Regions from separate parts of the Homo sapiens genome. Here regions 1 and 3 are each linked to region 2. Evidence: promoter capture Hi-C in human tissues and cell types (Jung and others, 2019). All regions are on one chromosome and are shown on one strand. Each heading gives the region's core, a stretch centred on a gene start or on the middle of the fragment in contact. The rest is flanking DNA. Distances are from core to core; before and after follow the strand shown.

Region 1 (3,953 bases), core at 3-2,502, 80 kb before region 2:
TCACACAGCGTTGGGAGGCAGAGGAGGAAGGACTGCTTAAGGCCAGGAGTTCCAGGCCAGTCTGAGCAACATAGCAAGATCCTGTTGTACCAAAACACACACACACACGAAAACTGGTTGTCGTGTTACTAAAAGTTTCCATTACAACACTGAAGTTTAGAATACAGTATTACTAGGCCAAAATATCCTGGCATTTTATAGGATTTCTTTAACAAAATCTGATCACATCTAAACTGGCATCTTTCTGCTCACTTCTCAATTTCAATCTAAATTTATTTATTTATTTATTTATTTTTTGAGATGGGAGTCTCGCTCTGTCGCCCAGGCTGGAGTGTAGTGGCACAATCTCAACTCACTGCAAGCTCCGCCTCCCGGGTTCACGCCATTCTCCTGCCTCAGCCTCCTGAGTAGCTGGGACTACAGGCGCCCGCCACCACGCCCGGCTAATTTTTTGTATTTTTAGTAGAGACGGGTTTTCACGGTGTGAGCCAGGATGGTCTCGATCTCCTGACCTCGTGATCCGCCCGCCTCGGCCTCCCAAAGTGCTGGGATTACAGGCGTGAGCCACCGCGTCCAGCCTCAATCTAAATTTAAAACACAGTTTGCTGTTCAGCTACAGGGCAGAATTTCACACGGAGCAGGCACCTCACAGATGCCAACCCGGTGGGTACGGCCCTTTGAGTGTCACCTAAAGCCTCATAACATCATCACCAAGCCCATCCCCAAAAGCTGTAGTTAGTAAGCCACCAGGATTTGATATTTAGAAACTTTTCCCACTAACAAAAAACAAGCAAGAATAAATTTTAAACAAAGGCTGACTGTACCAAGGAAATGGAGATAATAAACAGAAAAAGACTCATGGACACTGGTGTTGGGAGTGATGGTCTTAGCCCTCAGACCAGACTAAGACACCCTGCAGAGCTGAGGCTGTCAGGAACCACGCAGAGCCACGGAAGGGAAACACCTGCCCCCGGGCTACAAAGGCCACCCTCTGCCCTCTGCTTACTGCTCTGGTTCTGCCCTCCAGACACAAGCAGGTCCCTAAAGCAGTTGCTATCCTGCTGACGTGCTGACACCATCAGATATGAACAAGAATCCCAGTTTTATTTTTCCTAATAAATAAATCATCCATTTAGCAAAACGTCAACGATACCAAAAGCTATGAAAGCATCCTTGGATTTACAAAGAACCCTCGCTTCTCATTTCCCTTATTTTCCCATGCCCAGGCAGAGAGCCCTCTAAGCCCATGGGAAGCTTAACAGAAGGGGGTGGGGAGTGGCCAACTGTGGCCAGGGCAAGACAGAAACCACATGTGCGTGAACACGTGTTCTACACAGAGCCTTATGTACTGGGCCACAGAATAAGCAGAGCTGGGCAGCTCCTGCTGCCAAAGTCAACATGTTCAGGCTGCCCGGCCTCCACAGGCGCTTTCCTGAAAGCTGCCTGCAGAGAGAAGGGTGGCCAGGGCAGGAGGCAGGATCCTGAAGCTGCCTGCAGAGGGAGGGGCGGCCAGTGCAGGAGGCAGGTTCCTGAAGCTGCCTGCAGAGAGAAGGGTGGCCAGGGCAGAAGGCAGCAGCACAGGGGCTCGGGCCCACGCTGGCTGTCCACACCCAGGGCCACGCCTCCATGACGGTGCCCTCCACCACATCCCCTCTCGTGTGTGCTGGTGCCACCACGGGGGCCCAGGGACCTTTTTGCTCTACTTCTCTTTCAAACTTGCAGCCCTGTGCCAGCAGCCAGCACTGCCTTCAGAATCCCTGCACACAGCGGTGGGAAACCTTGACTGCACCGGAAGAGGAGCAGGCTGCCCTGGCTGGGCCAGACGCTACACATCTTGCTGTCGAGATGGTCTACATTTCTTCCTTTTTTCTTTTTCTTGTAATCCTTCTGTCACCTAGAGCTGGAGTGCAGTGGTGTGATCATAGCTCACTACAACCTCTGCCTCCCGAGCTCAAGAGATCCTCCTACCTCAACCTCCTGAGTAACCATGACGACAGGCACACACAACCACGCCTGGCTAATTTTTGTATTTTTTGGAGAGATGGGGTCTTGCCACGTTGCCCAGGCTGGTCTCGAACTCCTGACCTCAGGCAATCCTCCCACCTCAGCCTCCCAGAGTGCTGGGATTACGGCCAGTTTACATTCGGAACCCACCACTATCCCCTTGTTGACAGTAAGCACATCCCAAATCATTTTTCCCAATGGACAACACAAATAAATAATTAAGATCCTTATTCTAGAGTGGGGAAAAAAAGAGACTAGAATTCTCAGCAGAACTTGAGGAATCCAATGGCCAGTAACGAAGATGCCTCCCAGAGTCTCCTGGCCATGTTCCATCCCTCCCCTCAGCCAGGTACTGGGGTGAGATGCCTCCCAGAGTCTCCTGGCCGTGCCCCATCCCTCCCCTCAGCCAGGTACTGGGCTGAGATGCCTCCCAGAGTCTCCTGGCCGTGCCCCATCCCTCCCCTCAGCCAGGTACTGGGCTGAGATGTCTCCCAGAGTCTCCTGGCCGTGCCCCATCCCTCCCCTCAGCCAGCTACTGGGCTGAGATGCCTCCCAGAGTCTCCTGGCCGTGCCCCATCCCTCCCCTCAGCCAGGTACTGGGCTGAGATGCCTCCCAGAGTCTCCTGGCCGTGCCCCATCCCTCCCCTCAGCCAGGTACTGGGCTGAGATGCCTCCCAGAGTCTCCTGGCCGTGCCCCATCCCTCCCCTCAGCCAGGTACTGGGCTGAGATGCCTCCCAGAGTCTCCTGGCCGTGCCCCATCCCTCCCCTCAGCCAGGTACTGGGCTGAGATGCCTCCCAGAGTCTCCTGGCCGTGCCCCATCCCTCCCCTCAGCCAGGTACTGGGGTGCTCAGGCCACACCGGACCCTCCATCTCCTTCCTCCTACCTTCCTCTTCTTCTCAACAAAATCTAAGCAAGTTGTAAATGGGCCTTCTGGTGGCAATGATGTATTAAGACACGCAGAGCCCTTACCCCATTTGCTACAGGAACCCAATTACATCTGGGAAGAAACAAGCAGGACAGGAAAAAGGTACATTGGTGTTTTTGCATCCATAAAGTTCACTTCAATTTAAATAGAACTTACTGAGTACTCTTTTGCTAGATCCAGGCAAAATGTTTTTCACCCTCAGATACAAAAACATAGAGGAAAAAATTCCCTTAAGCCAGCTGTAAAAAATGATGGTATTAAAAAAATAAAACACTGGCCCCATGAGAATCACTGTAGTTAACAAAAGAAATACAGTAACCGCAATATTATAACCTACAAACAAAAAGCCATTCTCAGTCCCCCAGCAGGACCTCTCCATGCCTCCCAGGTCAGCAGAGGACAGAGGACAGCAGAGGTCACAGGTCAGCAGAGGTCCCAGCACTCAGAGCCGGATTCCAGCTAAAAGCACACATGAGGGAAAACAGCTGACAGCCAGAGCTCCCAATGGGGAGCTCCAATGTTCCAAACCCTCCCCCAGGCCCTGGGACTCTCTGCCCATCAACCAGAGCCTGGAGGGGGAGGGAGTAGGAGGGGGCGCCGCTCAGCCACAAGTGCCCATTTTCACATGAACAGGTCTAACTTAAATGACACAGCATCTTCTATAAGTTACTGCAGTTTAAAGATGCCTAGCCACAGATAATTCCTCAGAACTCTAAAATAAAAACTGATTCTACTAAACAATGGAGTTATTTATCTTGGCATAATTACTACGCATATTTTTTTGATAATAATGGAAGTATGGTGTTACCTGTTTCTAAATCTTAACAAAAACTTATGTTGAAAATGGAAGTGGACTGGGCGCAGTGGCTCACGCCTGTAATCCCAGCACTTTGGGAGGCTGAGGTGGGCAGATCACGAGGTCAGGAGACCGACACCATCCTAGCTAACACGAGGAAACCCCGTCTCTACTAAAGATACAAAAAATTAGCCGGGCGTGGTGGCGGGCACCTATAGTCCCAGC
Region 2 (3,734 bases), core at 117-2,616:
TGGCAGGGCCAACCCTACACACACACACACACGCGCGCGCGCGCGCGCGCGCACACACATACACCACACACACAGCTACCGCCCTGCCAGGGGATGATGAAATGAGGAACGGAAATTAACATTTCAGGCAACGTCTCACATTGTTCCTTGAGGCCAAGGGCTGCTGTTGCAGCCGCCACCGCCACCGCTTTCCTCCCAGCCACCCCCCACACCCGCCCGCCTACCCTCCCCCTAACACCCCCCACACGGCTGCCCGCATTCCTGCCCCTCCTCGGCCTACGCGCGCCTCCTGCAACCCCGACGCCCCCAGGTCCCCAGTTCGCCCTCCCCCTCCGGCTCGGAGCCCGAGAGCCGCCTGCTCTCATTTCAAAACAGCGATAATAATAGGGACGCTGAGAATAACAACTACGACCAGCACGGCGAAGGCGCCCCTCTCGCGGGTCAGAGGTCGGCGCCCCAGCTCCGCAGAACCCGGCGCCCGGCCAGCGCCCCCTGGCAGCCCCTCCCGGCAGCCTCAGGTCCCCAAGACCTGCAGGCCCGCCCCGAAGCCCCCCGTCCGCCCCTCACGGCCGCTCCGAGCCCCCGAGGCCCGCCCCGGAGCCCCCTGTCCGCCTCTCACGGCCGCCCCGGGCCCCCACGGCCCCCAGGCCCGCCCCGGAGCCCCCAATCGGCCCCTCAGAGCCGCCGCGGGCCCCCGGCCACCCAGGCCCGCCCGGAGCCCCCGTCCGCCCCTTACGGCCGACCCAAGCTCCGCCGACCTCCCAGGCCCCCCCCGGAGCCCCCTATGGGCCCCTCACGGCCACCCCGGGCCCCCAAAGACCCCCGGCTGCCCCGAACCCGGACCCGTAGGCCCGCTCCGGGACCCATTATTGGTCCCTCACGATCGCCCCGGGCCCCCAAAGACCCCCGCCCACCCGGCCCCGACCCCCCAGGCCCGCCCGGAGGCCCGCGGCGCAGCTCCGTCGCCGGGGAAGGCCTGCAGGCCGCAAGGCCGCGCGAATGCCCCGTGCCCGCCCCGACCACCGCCCCCAGACCAGCGGCGCCTCTCACCGTGCTCCGAGGGCTGCGCGGCTCCGCGACGGCTCAGCGGCGGGGCGCGGGCGCTGCCCATGCAGCCCGCGGCCGCGTTTCCCGGGCCGCGCGGCCCGAGCGGCAAGGCGGCGGCGGCGGCGGCGCGGGCTCGGGCCCGGCAGAGCTGCGAGGGACGGCGGGAGGCGAGCCCGCCCCTCGGGCGCGCCCACGGCTCGGGCGAGAGCCGCGGCTCCCGGTGCGGACGCTACTGATGGGGCGTCTGGCCGCGGGCTCGGCGGCGGCGCCTCCCCGGCTGGGGCCCTCGGTCCATCGCGCACCGTCTCAGGGCGGCCTCTGGCTCCAGGACCCAGCGGCGGCTGCGGCGGGAGCCGGCCGCATGAGACGCTCCCGCCCATTGGCCCGCCGTATCCGCCACCGCCATTGGCCCGCCCCGGCCGGCCGCAGGGGCTGTGCACGTCACAGCGCCGTGAGTTAGTGCGCTAATGGAGTGAAGGAGAGAGGCGGGATTGACAGCCTCTCTGGCGGTCCGGAGGCGGGACTAGGAGGACGTCCCGGTAACGATTGGGCAGGGTCCTGCGTAAGGGCGCATGCGACACTGGAAGTAGCGAGCAACTGGATTGGCTGCCTCCGTCGCAAAGGAGGGTGGGTCTTGCATTCTCGGGCCTGACGATTGGTCTTTCCAAGTGCCGGAAGCAACAGGGATGTCGTCTGGAAACAAAATCTGGTATTGAAGCGCAGGGAGACAAAACGTCCACCTCTAGAGCCGAGGCGGCGGTTGCCTGTCGCGTGCCCGTGGTCTTCTGCCTGCCCCCGGACATCTCGGGCCACGTCCGGCCCGGCCTCCGGCCGCGCTGCCCTAACGGGCGTCACGGGGCATGAAGAGCTCTGGGCGGCTGCGAGGGGAGGGTACCGGGGCAGCGGGGCGGTCGCTCGGGGCTCCCGCGCGGTGACTCTTGCTCTGCCGTCGAAGAGAACGGCCCTCGGGCGCGTCGCGGCCGCGGCTCCAGAGCCCCTGGGCCTCGCGCTCTGAGAGCCTGAGCCGCTTGAGGAGGCCAAGCGCCCACGAACCGCATTCCCTGCCTTGCTAGTTAGTTCTCCAACACGCGAAAAAGGTAGACGAGGACTGGTTTTCTTTGCAGCTAAAATGAATCAAGCCTCTGGTAAGTGTGGATCCTGTTCTAAGTGCACCTGTGTTCTCCTCCAGAACTAAACCAAAAAGCAAGGTGAACAAAATCGGTGCTCCTTCAGTTTCTTCTTTAGTTCTGCATGTTACTGGGGACTAAGACAACGGGTAAGCAAACTATTTATAGGCCTCAATTTACGAAATAACGGAATTGCAAAGTCCGGAGTGGATAGGACCGTGAGGACGGTCTTTTTTCTTGGGCAACACGCATTATGGTCGAGAGATCAGTTGTTAAACCGCCCCTGTTCAAATCCCAGCCCTACCAGTGACTAGCGGTCACCCTGTAGGCTTTGTCTCTCAGATCTTCAGTTTCTTGGTGGGTAAAATGGGAACTACAAGTAGCACCTATTCTTTTTTTTTTTTTTTTTTGAGTCAGGGTCTCACTCTGTCGCCCATGCTGGAGTGCAGTGCTAACTGCAGCCTCAGCTTCCCGGGCTCAGAGGATCCTCCCACCTTAGCCTACTAAGTAGGTGGGACCACAGTCAGGCATCACCACACCCGGCTAATTTTTTAAATTTTCGTAGAGATAGGCTCTCTGTGTGTTTCCCAGGCTGGTCTTGAAATCCTGGACTCAAGCGACCCTCCCTCCTCAGCTTCCCAAAGTGCTGGGATTAGAGGCATGAGCCACGGTGCGGGCCAGGAGCACCTATTTCATAGGCCCATCGGGAAGATTAAATGAAGGGGCTGTGGAGGCTGTAGCACGGTGCTTGGCACGTATGTGAGCTCTGGGGAAACATTAGTTATGCTATAACTGGACCTTCAGCCTTCTCTAGGCAGCCAGATTTCGGGCTCCACCCACAACTAGTCACGCCATTGGATGAGGGGTGAGCGCCTGATAAAAACAGCCGGCGTATGCGCTGATGTGCGTTCACGAAGAGGTGATCCAAGTGTTTCCATATTTGCCTCACTGGACGAAGTATTTGGTAAAATTGACGAAATTCAGAGTCCTGGACCCCATCATCACCTATGGAATTATTCTAGATGAGAGGGGACTAGGCATTGGCATTTTTTTATTTTGGTCCCTTACAATACTCATCATTGGGAAAATTTGAAAAACATCAACCTAAGCCGTCATGCTCGCACTCGAGAATGTTTCCCCTAGGCTGATTGACGGGCAGTGGTATTCACAGGTGCGGTCAGCGCAGTCCAGCTTCAAACTTCCGGGGATCAAGTGATCCTCCCGCCTGAGGAGCTGAGATTACAGGCCTGCACCACCATGCTCATCTATCAGGGGAATTTAAAGTGCAAAATATTAATATGAGTAAGCAGGCAGTTGGCCTTCGAAACAGAATCTGAAAATACACTAAGGTAAAAGCAAACTGAATTTCGACAGAAGTAGAACGTGTATGGTAGAGAAAAGAAATGCAGAGTAAAGGGAAAGGAGCCAGGAAATGCACTAATTAGAAAATCTTGGCCAGGCGCGGTGTCTTATGCCTGTAATCCCAGCACTTTGGGAGGCCGAGGCGGGTGAATCATGAGATCAGGAGTTCGAGACCAGTCTGGCCAATATGGTGAAACC
Region 3 (3,979 bases), core at 684-3,183, 110 kb before region 2:
AACAATGCCCTTGGTCCCCCAGAACCCCGTGAGTTCAACAGCAGAGGCGTCAACGTGGTCTTCCTGTCCCCAAACACAGCGTATCTAATTCAGCCTCTAGATCGGGGTCATAGGACCTGTAAGGCTCATTACACACAGCATGCTATGGAAAGGACTGTCAACATGGGAGAGAGAGAGAGAGAGCATCATGAGTGTCTGGAAGATGACACCATGAAAGATGCCATCATTGTTATAGAGAAAGCCATGAAAGCTGTCAAACCCAAAACAATGAACTCCTGCTGGAGAAAACTATGTCTGGAGGTTGTGTGTGATTCCACAGGGTTTACAACAGCCAATCAAGGAGATCATGAAGAGACTGCGGACATGTGGGCCGGGGCAGGAGGGCTGGGGGGCGGGGAGGGATGAAGGGTTTCATTTCAAAACTCAAGAGCTAAGAGATACCACACCAGAGAAATTAGAAGACAACCTGGTGGTGATGAGTGCTTCTGACCCACACCAGGTGACGAGGAGGAGGTAGCAGCAGTGACAGAAAACAAAGTGACATCAGACACTCCTGCAGAGGGGAGGGGTTCCCACGACTCCCACCCGCTTTTAACTTCTTGTACAACACACACCTGTCTGTGACATGGGCACTGAAACTAAAGCCAACAGTGAGGGAGGACTGTGACCATACAGGAACATTTCTAGAGAAATGACAAAGCACTTCGTAAGTTACACCAAATGCGCCTGCCTCTCCTGCCTCCCCTTCTACCTCTTCCACCCCCGCCCCATGAGAACAGCATGACCACCCCTCCTCCTTCTACTCAATGAAATGATGAGGATGAAGACCTTCATGATGACCCACTTCCACTTAATGAGAAGTAAACATATTTTCTCTTCCTTATGATTTTCTTAACAACACCTTCTTTTCTCTAGCTTACTTTACTGTAAGAATACAGTATACAATACATACGACATATAAAATATGAGGGGCATGGTGGCTCACACTTATAATCCCAGTGCACTGGGAGGCCGAGGCGGAAGGATCACTTGAGCCCAGCAGTTTGAGACCAGCCTGGGCAACATGGCAAGCGAGACTCTGTCTCTTTAAGAAGCGGGAAAAAAAGTGCTTTGTATATGTCAGTGTTGGATTAAAATGTGTTGACTGTTTATGTGATCAGGAAGGCACTGGTCAACAAAATTAAATACTCGGGGTATAAAAGGTTATATGTGGACTTGACTGTACCAGGGGTCAGTGCCACTAATCCCCAAGTTGTTCAAGGACCAAACATATATAATGATTTCATCAACGTGTATGTCAACCATATTGATTAGGTCAATATTGATTTGTAATTCTTGATAATAATTTCAAATCATGGCATTGAAGCCTAACCACAAAAACCTCCTCAGAAAATAGCAAAAACGTAGAGCTTTAAAGATATTAAGCTAAATGTACGTGCTATAAGGCTACAGATACAGCAGGCTGGAAATAGTCTGGCTGAGAACACACAACTGGCCAGCATGACTAGCAAGTGCTCAAGTAGCTTCTCTTGTTTGAAGACACTGGTGTACACAAAGATTTCTGCCTCCTGGGTTCAAGCAATTCTCCTGTCTCAGCCTCCCGAGTAGCTGGGATTACAGGTGTGTGCCACCATGCCTGGCTAATTTTTTGTCTGTGTATTTTAGTAGAGACGGGGTTTCATCATGTTGGCCAGGCTGGTCTCAAACTTCAGGCGCTGTGGTTTAAAACTCTTTTATCCATGTTTTAAGGGGTTGATGGGTGGGGCGAGGTGGGGAAGGGCTTTCCAAGGCTGAAAACCTCTTCAGGGGTTGGTGGGTGGGGCGAGGTGGGAAGGGCTTTCCAAGGCTGAAGACCTTTTTGGGTCAAGGTTCTGACGGCACACTGGGGAGCGTCAAGACGCCTCCTGCAGTCGTAGACAAGCCGGGCTGAGGCATTCACTGTCGCTTAGAACTGAAAACTTAGGGTCGTCCATGCCCAGAACGTCGGCAGTGCGGACCAGCCCCAGGAAGGCCTTTCTCACTGGCTTCTAGAAGGTGGGGCCGGCCCCCATGCCTGCCCCGGCACACGGCCATTCTGGGAGCTGCTGGCAGCCGGCGGGCTAGAAGGGGTGCACACCGTCTGTATGTGCGTCACAGGCTCATGCTTTTTTAATCCTATCTTGAAAACTTAGGGCTTTCTCACAAAGACCTTGTGCCAGTTCCTAAGTGGAACAACAATTTTATAAAATAATTTTAAATGGCTCAAATCAAGTGTTACCAGTGAACGGGGCTTTCATTATATGTCGAAAGCTGACCATGGGGAACAGGCCCACAGGGGCCTCCTGCTCCACACCCTGTCAGGGCATCCAAAACCAGCTCATGTAACTCTGCTTTCCAGGAGTCCAACTTGAACATTTTTTTAAAGAGACAAAGTCTTGCTCTGTCGCCCAGACAGAGCTCAGTCACGGCTCACTGCAGCCTCAACCTCCTGGGCTCAAGTGACACTTCTGCCTCAGCCTCCTGGCTCCAACTTGAGCTTACAGTTTTCTGCTCCACCACTGCTCTCTGCCTCCCACCTCCAGGTGACTGGGACGCGAGCGCCCCAAGCAGCACGGAAGAGCTCCGTGCAGTGCACGGATTTGCGAAGAACGTGTTGGTTCTTGTGATTCACAAAGAACTTGGACTGAGTACAACGGGCAAAGAAGATGTCAGCTGTATTTTTAACATTCTGTTCAGCAAGAAGAGTATACATAATAATTTCCCAAAAAATATAATTTTTGAAAATGCAGAAAAATAAAAAATTTAGAAAGAAATACATGGCTGCAGACACTGACCTTTTCAGTTTTCCAATCATCATTTCTCAAAACACACACTTTCATCTCTATTTACCAAACACTATTTTCTGCATCTCCAAACCCCTCAAGCTTCAGTCCAGGTCCAAGTATCAATGGGTATATATGAAGCTCCTCTGCCACCAGAAATTCACTATGGAAAGATGTTATTTCTGGTACCCCAGTTGCAAAACAATGATGCCTGTTTTTTTCTTTTTGAGACAGAGTCTCATTCTGTCACCCAGGCTGGAGAGCGATGGCGTGATCTCGGCTCACTTCAACACCCACTTCACAGGTTCAAGCAATTCTCCTGTCTCTGCCCCCCGAGTAGTTGGTATTACAGGCATGTGCCACGACGCCTGGCTAATTCTGTATTTTTAGTAGAGATGGGGTTTCTCCATGTTGGCCAAGCTGGTCTCAAACTCCTGACCTCAGGTGATCCACCCACCTCGGCCTCCCAAAGTGCTGGGATTACAGGTGTGAGCCACTGTGCCCAGCCCAATGATGCCATTTTAACTCCTTTTCTCCTAAGTGGATTAGAGCTCCCTGAGCCTTCAGATAGCTTCCTTGGGGCTACTCCAGAGAACGACCAGCAGTCTCCACCTGCATAAGAAACGGGACACAGGGCACGAAGAGCAGCCCCAGGACCTGCCCGCTGCCTTGGGACTTGTGAAAGCATTTTTTGTGTAATGCCAAACAGGTCTTTGTTAAAAGACAATAACCAATAGGAGACAGGCTTCTAGATCTGCAGAAACTCTAGAAATAAATGAAGGAAAGCCTGACGAGTACCTGCCTGCTTTCCAGGGAAGAGAAGTGAGCAAAGGCAGAGAAGAAGCTGGAGGCCTCGTGGGGCATCTCCTGCACGGGCAGCAGGGCTGCGTAACCACCACGAGCACTGGGGCTTATGGGAGGAAGGAGTGTGTGCAGTTCCGGCCCCAAAGGTGACCAGGCCTACACGGGGCAATGCAGCTCAGAGGTCGTGGGCAGAGGACAGCTGAGGCAGGCAGACGGAGCACGCATCCCTGCTTCCCAGTGTGGGCCCACTCTGCTGGGCAAGGTTCTAAGGGGCTCCGAGTGAAGCCCCTGAGCACACGGTAAACAATCGATCCAAAAAGGGATGAGAAGGGCGGCTGGGCGAGGTGGCTCAGGCCTGTCATCCCAGCACTTTG

Evidence for each region. The method cuts DNA at HindIII sites, captures the fragments that hold promoters and counts their contacts. A contact is called where the count stands out against the background at its distance.
Region 1: a fragment that was not itself captured here is called in contact with the fragment with the promoter of ANKRD11 in region 2 in 10 of the 25 tissues and cell types used here (IMR-90 fibroblasts, adrenal gland, dorsolateral prefrontal cortex and 7 more).
Region 3: a contact is called between a fragment that was not itself captured here and the fragment with the promoter of ANKRD11 in region 2, in 2 of the 25 tissues and cell types used here (adrenal gland and dorsolateral prefrontal cortex).

The regions. Positions count from the first base shown.
Region 1 is chr16:89,409,560-89,413,512 of GRCh38, forward strand. All of the region lies in intron 2 of ANKRD11 (ankyrin repeat domain containing 11), which reads right to left. All of the region lies in intron 1 of LOC128462377, which reads right to left. Among named protein-coding and RNA genes, the nearest start is that of ANKRD11, 79 kb to the right of the region's middle. RefSeq lists an enhancer at 1,531-1,800. The HindIII fragment of the contact is 9,369 bases long and covers 1-3,953 here.
Region 2 is chr16:89,489,195-89,492,928 of GRCh38, forward strand. ANKRD11 (ankyrin repeat domain containing 11) reads right to left here and starts at 1,367. Exons shown (of 13, transcript NM_013275.6): 1 at 1,051-1,367. It overlaps LOC101930112 (a long non-coding RNA gene), which reads left to right and starts at 1,776. Exons shown (of 2, transcript XR_933895.4): 1 at 1,776-2,192. It overlaps LOC101927863 (a long non-coding RNA gene), which reads right to left. Exons shown (of 5, transcript NR_188547.1): 5 at 3,209-3,439. RefSeq lists enhancers at 1-426, 427-941 and silencers at 223-292, 333-442, 523-572, 1,147-1,626, 1,827-1,916 and 1 more. The HindIII fragment of the contact is 15,043 bases long and covers 1-3,734 here.
Region 3 is chr16:89,377,103-89,381,081 of GRCh38, forward strand. The region is part of intron 2 of ANKRD11 (ankyrin repeat domain containing 11); the gene reads right to left. The region is part of intron 1 of LOC128462377; the gene reads right to left. Among named protein-coding and RNA genes, the nearest start is that of ANKRD11, 110 kb to the right of the region's middle. The HindIII fragment of the contact is 8,223 bases long and covers 1-3,979 here.